2 separate regions of the Homo sapiens genome follow, and region 1 is linked to region 2. Evidence: promoter capture Hi-C in human tissues and cell types (Jung and others, 2019). All regions are on one chromosome and are shown on one strand. The core of a region is centred on a gene start or on the middle of the fragment in contact, and the rest is flanking DNA. Distances in the headings are between cores, read along the strand shown. Region 1 overlaps TLX1NB (TLX1 neighbor). Region 2 holds the start of POLL (DNA polymerase lambda).

What was found. Contacts are between HindIII fragments. The study calls those that stand out against the background at their distance.
Region 1: a contact is called between a fragment that was not itself captured here and the fragment with the promoter of POLL in region 2, in 1 of the 25 tissues and cell types used here (lymphoblastoid cells).

Annotation. Positions count from the first base shown.
Region 1 is chr10:101,100,158-101,105,991 of GRCh38, forward strand. All of the region lies in intron 2 of TLX1NB (TLX1 neighbor), which reads right to left. Among named protein-coding and RNA genes, the nearest start is that of TLX1NB, 28 kb to the right of the region's middle. The HindIII fragment of the contact is 7,471 bases long and covers 1-5,834 here.
Region 2 is chr10:101,586,864-101,592,971 of GRCh38, forward strand. It overlaps POLL (DNA polymerase lambda), which reads right to left and starts at 1,394. Exons shown (of 9, transcript NM_001174084.2): 1 at 959-1,394; 2 at 383-543. The coding sequence starts at 497. It overlaps DPCD (deleted in primary ciliary dyskinesia homolog (mouse)), which reads left to right and starts at 1,458. Exons shown (of 6, transcript NM_015448.3): 1 at 1,458-1,537. The coding sequence starts at 1,474. RefSeq lists enhancers at 1,034-1,313, 1,414-1,743. The HindIII fragment of the contact is 10,926 bases long and covers 1-6,108 here.

The DNA of each region.
Region 1 (5,834 bases), core at 1,444-3,943, 490 kb before region 2:
GGTGGAGCACTTTGTCATCTGTCAAATGTAGGTCCCTGGGAAGGTCAATAAGCAATCTCCATCCTCTGCCTCTCTCCCCCACTTGCACCCCCACAACATGCTCAGGCCCCAGCCAAGTGCCAAGCTGGGGTGGGTGGTGTCCCAGAGCTGCAGGCTACATGGCCAGAGGTCCAGGCTCAGGAGGACTGGTTAGGGATGGTGAGAGTGAGCAGGTGTGGTGCCATACCTGTCTACTCCAGCTTCACATGTTTGACCCAAGGCTGCCCTGCCCCACCGGCACCAGCCCATCAGCACTCATTATTCTCCTCTGGATCTGAGGGGATTCTCCTCTATCTCACCCCAGCCCAGCATGCTGTGGCTTCTGCTGCCTCCTCCCTCTGGGGAGGTGAAGGCCCCCCCAGTAGGAGGCTCTCACTTCAGGTTCCCCTTCTGACCTTCTGAAGGCCATTCCCCACTAAGATCCCAGGGTCTTCAGCCCTGTTTCACTTCCATTCCCAGCCTCCCCTGAGCTTCCTCAAATGATTCTGGGGCACCTAGTCCATGCACCTACATTTGGAAATCATCTACTTAGCACAGTGGTTCTCAACCGTGGCTGCACATCAGACAGGAATCACCCAGGGAAGACTTGAAAGATCCTGATGCTGAGGCTGCCCCCAGACCAGAATTTCTGGGTTGGTACTCAGGCATTATTACAGGTTTAGGCACGGAATGGTGGGTCATGCCTGTAATCCCAACACTTTGGGAGGCCAAGGCAGGAGGACTACTTGAGGCCAGGAGTTCAAGACCAGCCTGGGCAACATGGCGAGACCGCCTCTCTACCTAAAAAAGAAAAAAAGAAAAAAAGAAAAAAGAAAAAAAAATTGTTGGGCATGGTGGTGCACACCAGCAGTCCTAGCTACTTGGGAGGCTGAGGCAGGAGATTACTTGAGCCCAAGAGTTTGAGGCTACCGTTAGCTATAATCACGCCACTGCACTCCAGATAGTCTCTAAAAAAGCAAATAAAATGACAAAATAAAATAAATATAGGTTTAAAGCTCTCCCAGGTGATTCTAATGTGCAGCCAAGCTTGAGAACCACTGCTGATGTTTCCCAAGCATCCTTGCTGAGAAGAATCACTTGGGACGCTTCAAGTATTGAAGTGTATTCAGGTATTGAAATGTATTGTGTTAAATACACAGCTTCCCAGGCTCCCTCCCCTGGAAATTGTCATTGGGTGAGTCTAAGATAGGGCCCTGTAATTTGCATTTTTAATAAATACCACAGATGATTCTAATTATTAGGGAATTTTGGAGCTACTAGCCTAGAGCTGTGTTTCTCAAACTTTAATGCGCATCCAAATCACGAGGGGATCTTGTTAAAATGCAGATTCCGGTTGACTAGTTCTGGGGTGAGAGCCTGAGGAGTTATAGAAGTTCTGGCCAATCGGAGCATAAATTAAGAGATGGTGAATAATAAGACAAGACCAGAGAAGAAGGCAGGGACCTTATAAACTGTGACAAGGAGCTCAAACTTGATGCCATGGCAATGAGGAGCCACCAGAGGGTTTTAAACAGAGGGAAAGCTTGTTCAGATACATATTTTAGAAAGGTGTATTATTGTGGCCATGTGGGAGATGATGGATCATGCATCAGAGGATCAGACATCAGCCAGGAGGCTGTTGCCACATTCCAGGTGAAAGGTGGTGGCCTGGGCTAATGAGGTGGGTGCAGAGGGAGAGAAGTTAGTAGTCTTGTGGAAGACTCAGTGATCAGTTGGGTGGAGGCTGAGGGGGAAGATGAGGGAGGCTCCAGAGTAACCCCTGAGCTGGCTACTGACTTGGCAACTGGTGAAGAGGCGTGCCCATCTTGGTTGGCTCTGAAGCTTCCTTCCACATCTACTGACTCTATGGTCTGATCATTGTTTGGCTTAGCTTCTTGTGGGACCAGGGTGGGAGAGAGGCTACAGGAAGCTGCCTGAAATGCGTTATGGAACTGGTGCCTTGGAGAGCCCTTCTCCTTGACTTTGAGTGACTCTGGAGGCTCCCTGTCAGCAGTTGCCAAGGCTTAGAGGCTGCTTTGGGGATTCGGTCTTCTGCATACCTTGGCTCTCCATTTTTTTCCTCTCTGGCTCCCTTCCAGAGAAGGAAGCCCAGATGAAGAGAAATCTGCATCCAAATGGCACCCTTGCTCTTGGATCCCATCTGGTGACTCTCCTTGTGAACCCTAAGTGCCCCCTAAAGACCTCCCGCAGGCCATTTCTCCTGACATCTCTGCTTGGCACACCAGTCCCATCCTGACCTTGACCACAGACCCCTCCCCACATTGAGCTCTGTCTACCCACTCCAAGGACACTTGGCCTGTTCTCCTGTTTGGGGACCTTATTTTTCCCTTTTGTCAGCTAAATGTTGGCTCAGAATCCCCTAACCAAGTAACTGCTTTGCAGTTCCCAGGCTGCTCTGTCACATCTCTCTCTGGTATAGCTCTTTCTACGGTGCAAGTGTGCAGTAAGACTGAGATTCAAGTCACACTCACTAGGCTGGGAGGGCCATTCTGTAATCAATTGCCATCATCTTGAGCATCTGGTGAGAGCTAATAGTATGTTGGGCACCAAACTAAGGACTTTATATGTATTATCTCAGTGTATGTTCACATCTCCAAGAGATAGATTGTGCAGTGGTGCGATCTCGGCTCACCCGCAACCTCCCCCTCCCAGGCTCAAGCCATTCTCCTGCTCAGCCTCCTGAGAAGCTGGGATTACAGGCACACTCCACTACTGCCTGGCTAATTTTTGTATTTTTAATAGAGATGGGGTTTCGCTATGTTGGCCAGGATGATCTCAAACTCCTGACCTCAAATGATCTACCTGCCCCAGCCTCCCAAAGTGCTGGGATTCCAGGCGTGAGCCACTGTGACTGGCCAGGTTCTCCTATTCTTATTTTACAGATGAAGAAATAGGCAAAGATGTTAAATAACTTGCCCAAGGTCACTCAGCTAGGAATTGGGACTGGAGCCTCGTGCATCTTCACCACTGAACTGCACTGCCTGTCATAGTCCTCATCAGCAACCAAGGCTCAGTTAAGTCCTCTGCCTAGGATCAGCCTCACTGGATTTTTCCCAGAGAAAATGTCAGGCCAGGGCTAAGGCTCATACCCAGAAAGCTGAGGGAGGGAGCAGATGGTAACCCCAGGGGGATTTTGCCACAGTGGAGTTAGGGATAGGAGGTCAAAAGGACTGCAGTTGAGTCTTGCTCTGCCTCTTGTTATCTGAGTGAACGTGGCCAAGTCTGACCTCTCTGAACTTCAGTTTCCTCATCTGTGACATGGGGATGGCAGTAGAAGCTACCTCTCAGAGGTTATGAGGAACAAATGAGGAAATGTGCAAGGCAGGATTGTATCAACTGCAAAGAGCTGCCTGATGTAAGTGACTGTTAGTGCCAGCAGTCACTCAATATTTATCATGAATTACTAGGACCGAATCCAGGTGCTGTGAGTACAGCCATGAGCCCCTGGGCCTGGACTTGTCCCTAAGATGACAAATTGCAAGTCAAACAAGAATACAGTCACCTTGCCACTCTCCGCCTTCCATGGGCCTTTTGTGATCTTTCTGAAGCTATGACTTGGGCCCTGGCCATCTTTCCTTACCTGTGTAAACTGAAGGTCTTTAGCCCTCTAACAGTCTAGACAGCCCCCAATTTTAACATTCCAGGGGTGGAATGGGAGGCGGGTCCTTGTGACATTTGCTAAAGCAGAATTGCTGCCAAAAAGGGGCCTCTTTCTTCATGCAATGAATAAAAATCTTAGTGCCTCGTGTTTGTGTATGTCAAGACTCACTGCTGAAACTTTTGTTAATTCATTTATTCAAATGAACCACATTTATTTAAATTTACTTTAAATTTCAAAAGTAAACTAAAAATGCATTCTTGTTGTAAGAAATACAGATGAAATAATCCTTCCAATTCCAGAATCATCTGCAGAGGTCACTGCTGTGGTCAATTCACTGTGTATCCTTCTAGATCATTTCCTACGCATTTACCTACATGTATATATTATTCAAGGAGAAACATACGATTTTTTTGTTGGGTTTTTACCTTTGTACCTGAGTATTTTTGTTTTTCTGCAATTTGCTTTTCCAGTGAGCGGTGGCTCACGCTTGTAATCCCAGCACTTTGGGAGGCCGACGCAGGCGGATCATGGGGTCTGGAGTTTGAGACCAGCCTGGCCAACACAGTGAAACACCGTCTCTACTAAAAATACAAAAATTAGCTAGGTATGGTAGCGGGTGCCTGTAATCCTAGCTACTCGGGAGGCTGAGGCAGGAGAATCACTTGAACCTGGGAGGTGGAGGTTGCAGTGAGCTGAGATCGTGCCACTGCGCTCCAGCCTGGGTGACAGAGCTAGACTCCATCTCAAAAAAAAATGTATCTATCTATCTATATATATGGCTTGGAATGAAAATATGGCATGCACATTTTCCCATATCAGAACATGGAGGTCTACCTCATTATTTTTAATTGCTTCACCTTAAGTATTCCATAGATGGGGGTGCCACTGTTTATTCACCCATTCCCACTGGTGGACTGTTAGGTTGCTTCTGATTTTTCATTGTTGTAAATTTGCTTAGTGAACTCTCTGGTATGTGGTTCTGTGGGCAGACATGGCTATTTTGTTAGGATAATGGATATCTAGAAATAGAGTTGGTCAAATGAAGATGGGTATTGTTAATTTTAATAGAAACTGCCAAAATACCTATCAAGAAGACTGAACCAATTCAGGGCACTTCCAAGAGAGGATGAGAAGACCAACTTACGTACACACTCTCTCCCATGCTGGATACTGTCAGTACGTTGAATTTTTGCTAATCCAATGGATGAAGCTAAAACAAATCTTATGTCTATTTTAATTTGTAGTTCTCAAATTATGATTGCATTTCTCTCATGTTGAGCATATTTTCCTAAGTTCATTGGACATTGTGTTTTTATTTCTGTAAGTCACCTCTTCATATACTTTGCCCATTTTATTTTTATTTTTATCTTTGGAGACAAAGTCTCACTCTGTCATGCATGCTAGAATGCAGTGGGCGATCCGGGCTCACTGCAACCCCTGCCTCCCAAGTTCAAGAGCTTCTCCTGCCTCAGCCTCCCGAGTAGCTTGGGTTAAAGGTGCCTGCCACCACACCCAGCTAATTTTTGTATTTTTAGTAGAGACAGGGTTTCGCCATGTTGGCCAGGCTGGTCTTGAACTCCTGACTTTAGGTGATCCACCTGCCTCAGCTTCCCAAAGTGCTGGGATTTCAGGGGTGAGCCACCGTGCCCAGTTGCCTATTTTAAAAACTGGGGTTTCAAAAATATTTTTCTTATTAATGTGTTGGAAATTCTTAATTCTGGTTATTAATATGTGTTGTATTTTGGCTGAGTGCAGTGTCTCATGCTTGTAATCCTAGTACTTTGGGAGGCCGAGGAAGGAGGATTGCTTGAGGCCAGGAGTTTGAGACCAGCCTGGGCAACATGCAAGACTCCCATCTTTACACAATATAAAATAAACAATTTAGCCAAGCATGGTGGCATGTGTGCCTGTAGTCCCAGCTACTCTGGAGACTGAGGTGGGAGGATTGCTTGAGCCCAGGAGTTCGAGGCTGCAGTGAGCTATGATCTTGCCACTGCCCTCCAGCCTGGGTGACAGACCAAACACACACACACACAATTTTATTTTAATTTAATTTCTTTTTCTTTAGAGATGGTGTCTCCTCCTCTTGCCCATGCTGGAGTACAGTGGCATCATCAGGGTTCACTGCAGCCTTGACCTCCTGGGCTAAAGCAATCCTCCCATGTCACCCTTCAAGTAGCGGGGACTACAGTCA
Region 2 (6,108 bases), core at 144-2,643:
ACAGACCCGACAACCCTGCCTCCAAAGCCTCTGCCATTTATTTGCCAATTTGGCTGCAAAACAACTAACAACAAGCCTGGGTAATGGAGGGGGGTTTCTGTCCCAGTCCTCAGGGCAAAAATTATACTGGTCATTCCCTGAGGGCCCAGGGAGTCTTTTCTGATGGATAGAGGTCTTCGGGTAGAAAAGAAGGTAACACAGCAAATAGCCTGTCCAAGACCCAGGACCAAGCTTAGCACAAGGTAGATACAAACAGACCTGCAGGCCCTGGACAGGCAGAGTCAGCTCCAATATCTGATTCTGGACATAAACAACGTAGGGCTGAAGCACATGAAGGCTGTGGGTTCAAGCACACGAGGGTTCTGAGACTGGGTCAGCTCACCTTCTGCTTCTTCTCCCTCTTCCCTCCTAGGAATCTTTGCAAGTACTTTTGATGATGCATCAGCATGAATTTTCTGCCGCTTGGGAAATGCCTTCAAGATACCCCTGGGATCCATTGAAGTATGGCTGGATCCCGGCCTATTGGAGCGTTGGTCAGGGCTGCTGCACGTGGAAATCCAGAATTGAGGCCCTCCAACCCCTTTGCCTATGGAGGTAGGGTCTTTCCTGACCAGGCTTTGGGGGTAGCAGCCCAGTTTGGGGAAGCGGGTCGGGGGAGGGGGTCTCTTCAAACCCGGTTAAACTTCAGTGGTTTAGCCTAGCTTCACACTCCCCAGCCTTTCGAAGTTGGAGTATTACGGGAAATGAGGGGAAGGCTGGTGCCATCGGGGGTACTTTTGAGGAGTAGGAAACGACACCATTCCTCAGAGGGGTTGCGCTAAAGATTCAGCACAGCCCTGCTGCGGCCCACTTCGAAGGGCTTTACCAAATGGGATGCTGGGCTAGGAAATGGAGCTTTAGGGGATGGAGCGGAGCCTGGGGAGGACCTGCACATAAACCCCACATACTATTTCTCTACCTCCAACACAGACTCGCAGAGGAAGGAGGAGGACTTTCGGGGGTGAGTGGGAACGCCCTGCACCTGTCCTGGTCTCAGCCTCTCGACATGGGGGTGCTCAGCGCCGCAGCTGCGGGGAGATGGGGCACGGCCGCAGCAGGTGTGGGGAGCCCTCCGGGAATGGAGGAGTCTCGCAGCTGCGGGTGAAGTCCCGGGCAGGTGCGGTGTACTCGCCGTGTACGCAGCTGGCGCAGGCCAGGGAATCCCAGCTCGGGGCTAGAAGAAAGCTGGAGTGCCCGACCCCGGCCCCAAGAGTCTCTCCAACCCCCAGAGTCGGTCCCCGGGTGGGGTCGACTACTGGCCAAGCTAGTCACCCGGGGGTGGGCAGGAATAGACCACTTACCAGCAGAGCCAATGAGAGCGGACGAAGGGGGGAAGGAGGGCAAATGGCCAGAATAGCTTCCGAGTCAGCCGGAAGTGACCCTCTGGAACGGTTGCCATGGCAGCGGCTGGGCGTGCTGCTTAGCAGGGGAAAGATGGCGGTGACGGGCTGGTTGGAGAGTCTGCGGACAGCCCAGAAGACTGCGCTGCTGCAGGACGGTAACTCGAGGGTCCCCACGGGCTCCTTCGTTTTTTTCCCTCAGGGTCCGGCCCTCCGGGAAGGGCCTCAGGGCCTGGGTCGGCAGAGCTGGAAGGGTCTCGGCGGTCAGCCGGGCCAGGTCCTGCATTTGCAGATGAGGAGACTGAGGTTCACAGAGATGACATGACTGGAACACATGTCTCCGGACACCCCTTAGATTCCTCTACACCATCTCGCTCCGCTCTGATTTCTGTTGCTAATATAGTAATTTCTTTTACATTCATTATCTCATTTGCTCCTCACCACTGTCCTGAGAGGCTAATTTTCACCCCGTTTTACAGAAGAGGAAACTGAAATCCAAGAATGTTTTAGACTTTAGAGAGGAGAGAGGCCTGGGCTCTAGTTCCGACTGTGCCATTAATTCACCACGGGCGCTTCAGTCGGCTCCTTTACTTGTTTGGGCCTCACTTTCCTCATCTATAAAATGAAGTGGATGGACTACCATTGTTATCTCTGAGGTCCTTTCCAGCTGTAATATTTTTGTTAAGTGAACTTCTAAATATTTTCTGTGTCTTTAGGGGAGCTAGAGCAAGAACCAAGGGCTGTGCCTGGAAGAAGTGGGCACAGGGGCATGGATACCTAACTTTTCCCCACCCTAGGATTGGCCGATGCCGGCCCCTTTGTGCACTTGGGTCCTTTCTGGACCCACTGGGTAGCCAGGATGAATTGCGTCTGAAGTTCCTGAGGCTTTCAAGATAACAACTGGTGACTCATGTTCACAGGCAGGGGCCAATCAGGGAAGCCTGGAGTTTGTGGAAATTAAAATCATTTACTCGTTCGTGCAACATTTAGGAAGACTTTTACTATGTGCCAAGCTCTAAACTAGAACAGAAAGAAAAAGATATGTTGTCCCAGGACTCAGAGTGGTTGGGAAAAACATGTACTTAAATAATAAGAAGCGTTAAATAGAGGTTGTAGTCTTGTATAAAATGGTAGGAAAGAGTGAAGGTGTAAGTGACATCTCTTTGGAGGAAGACCCAACAGAAGTGATGATGTTTCTGGGTCCTAAAGAATTAATAAGGTCAGGCACAGTGGCTCACGCCCGTAATTCCAGCACTCTGGGAGGCCAAAGTGGGCGGATCATTTGAGCTCAGGAGTTCGAGACCAGCTTGGGCAACATGGCCAAACCTCATCTCTACAAAAAATACGGAAATTATGGCCGGATGTGGTGGTTCACGCCTGTAATCCCAGCATGTTGGGAGGCCGAGTGGGCGGATCCCTTGAGGCCAGGAGTTCGAGACCAGCCTAGCCAACATGATGAAACCACCCCATCGCTACTAAAAATACAAAAAAATTAGCCAGGTGTGGTGGTGCGCACCCGTAATTCCAGCTACTCTGGAGGCTGAGGCAGGAGAATCGCTTGAACCCGGGAGATGGAGGTTGCAGTGAACTGAGATCACACCACTGCATTCCAGCCTGGGTGACAGAGTGAGTGAGACTGTGTCTCAGACAAAAAAATAAATAAGCCGTGCATCATGGCACATGCCTGTAGTCCCAGCTACTTGTGGTGGCTGAGGCCAGAGGATCGCTTGAGCCAGCGAGGTAGACGCAGCAGTGAGCCGAGATCATGCCAGTGCACTCCAGCTTGGGCGACAGAGCGAGACCCTGTCTCAAAAAAACTGGAAAAAAAAAAAAAAAAAAGAATTAATAGGCGTTTGCTGAGTGAAGAAGAGGGGATAGCTATTCAAAGAACAACTCACATATAAGGACCCTATGTGAAGGTGTGAAGGTACGTGCCTGATTACTAGAGGAATAACAAAATGTTTAGTAATGTTAAAGCAGTCACTCAGTCAGAACAAACCACCTATAACTATGTCAGGTACTATTCTAGGTGCCAGGATGGAAGCGAGAATAAAAAGGTCCCTTTTCTCAAGGAGCAATGAGGGGAAGTTGTGGAAAATGAAGAGAGATGACAGATAAGTTGGGACATATTGTGATAGATCTCTTATGCCTTGCTAAAGATTTAGGACATTTTCTCATAGGACAGTGGTTTTTGTTTTTATTGTGGTAATAAATACATAACAGAATTTAGCATTTTAATCATTTTTAAGTGTACAGTTCTGTGGCATTAAGTACATTCACATTGTTGTGCAACTATCACCACCATCTTCAGAACTTTTTAATCTTTCTCAACGGAAATTCTTTTTTTTTTTTTTTTTTTAGAGACAGGGTCTTGCTCTGTCACCCAGGCTGTGGGGTACGATCATAGCTCACTGCAGCCTTGAACTCCTAGGCTCATGTAGTCCTCCCACCTCAGCCTCTTGAATAGCTGGGACTACAGGCATGTGCCACTACACTCAGCTCAAGTGAAATTCTGTACCCACCAAATGCCAACTCCTCATTCCCTCCTCCTCCCATCCCCTGGCAACCACCATTCTACTTTCTGTCTATGAATTTGACTGCTCTAGGAACCTCGTCTAAGTGGAATCATACAATATTTGTCTTTCTGTAACTGGTGTATTTCACTTAGTGTAACGCTTCAAGGTTCATCCATGTTGCCACAGTTGGATACTTCCAGCTGTGCCATTAATTCACCACAGGATCTCTAGTTGGCCCCTTTACTTGTTTGGATCCTTTCCAGCTGTAATATCGTTCATAAAGTAAACCTCTAAATGTTCCCTGTGTTTTTAGGGGAGATAGAGCAAGGACCAAGGGCTGTGCCTGGAAGAGGTGGGCACAGAGGTATGGATATTGTAGCATGTGTCAAAATTTTGCTCCTTTTTAAGGCTGAGTGATATCCATTGTATGTCTACACTGCATTCTGTTTATTTATTCATCTGTTGATGGACACCTGGGTTGCTTCCACCTTTTGGGTATTGTGGATAATGCTGCTCTGAACATGAGTATACAAATATCCACTTGAGTCCCTGCTTTCACTGTTTTTGGTCACAGAAGTTTTTAAACAAATATTTTATCAGCCAGGATTTTGTTAAGTTCTTTTGTTAGTAGCATCACAAAATGATATTGTTAAGATTCCACCCTATCCCCAGACTGAAAAACAACTCAGTATTGCATATGTGGTTAAGCCTTGTCAAACCTGCAGATTTACCCCTGGGTGTGTAGGAGGGGTGTGGGGAGTAGGGGGGAGGTTACTCCCTTCCACCAAGAATCATGGCTATTGATATCTTGGGCTGGATAATGAGACTCCATTTTACTTTTGTTTTTTTAAGAAATAATTACATTCATTGTGGAAATATGAAAAATAAAGAAGTCAAATATAATATTACCACCCAGATAATCATAATTTACTTTTTTTTTTGAGACAAGTTTCACTCTTGTTGCCCAAACTGGAGTGCAATGGCGCAATCTCGGCGCACTGCAACCTTTGCCTGCTGGGTTCAAGCGATTCTCCTATCTCAGTCTCCTGAGTAGCTGGGATTATAGGCGCCCGCCACCAAGCCCGGCTAATTTTTTTTTTAATTTTTAGTAGAGACAGGGTTTCACCATGTTAACCAGGCTGGTCTCAAACTCCAGACCTTAGGTGATCCGCCTGCATCGGCTTCCCAAAGGGCTGAGATTACAGGCGTGAGCCGCCTCGCCCAGCCCATAATTTATATTTTTATACATAAACTTCTATATTATTTCATGCATACACTCACAGTTATTTTTCTTTTACAAAAATATACTAATATACTTAATAATTTATATATACATTTATTTCTAGAATAAATATACTATTAAAACAAAGTATAGATAAGTATCGAATAATCATTGGGTAAGGGAAGATGCTCTGAGTGCAACTTCTAAGGCAGTAACCACAAAGAAAGAAAATATATAGTTGGCTTTATAAAAACTAAACACCTGTGTTGGGTACCTGTAATCCCAGCTACTGGGGAAACTGAGGCAGGAAGCTCACTTGAGGCCAGAAGTTTGAGGCTGTAGTGTGCTATAATCATGCCTGTGAATAGCCACTGCACTCCAGCCTAGGGAACATAGCCAGACACTCTTAAAAAACAAAAACACTTGTTTGGGAAAACCCACTTTAAACAAAGTTAAGGGCCAGGCGTGGTGGCTCACACCTGTATTCTCAACACTTTGAGAGGCCAAGGCAGGAGGATCACTTGAGCTCAGGAGTTTGAGATCAGTCTGGGTAACATAGTAAGACCCCATCTCTACAAAGAAATTTAAAAATTAGCTGGGCATGGTGGTGTGCAACCATGGTCCCAGCTACTCGGGAGTCTGAGGTGGAGGATCACTTGAGCCCAGGAGGCAGAGGTTGCAGTGAGCCGAGATCACACCACTGCACTCCAGCCTTGGCAACAGAGCAAGACACTCTAAAAAAAAGCCTCAGTTGGCCGGGCGTGGTGGCTCATGCCTGTAATCCCAGCCCTTTGGGAGGCTGAGATGGGCAGATCACGAGCTCAGGAGATTGAAACCATCCTAGCCAAAATGGTGAAGCCCTGTGTCTACTAAAAATACAAAAATTAGCTGGGTGTGGTAGCATTCACCTGTAGTCCCAGCTACTCAGGAGGCTGAGGCAGGAGAATTGCTTAAACCCGGGAGGCAGAGGTTGCAGTGAGCCGAGATCACA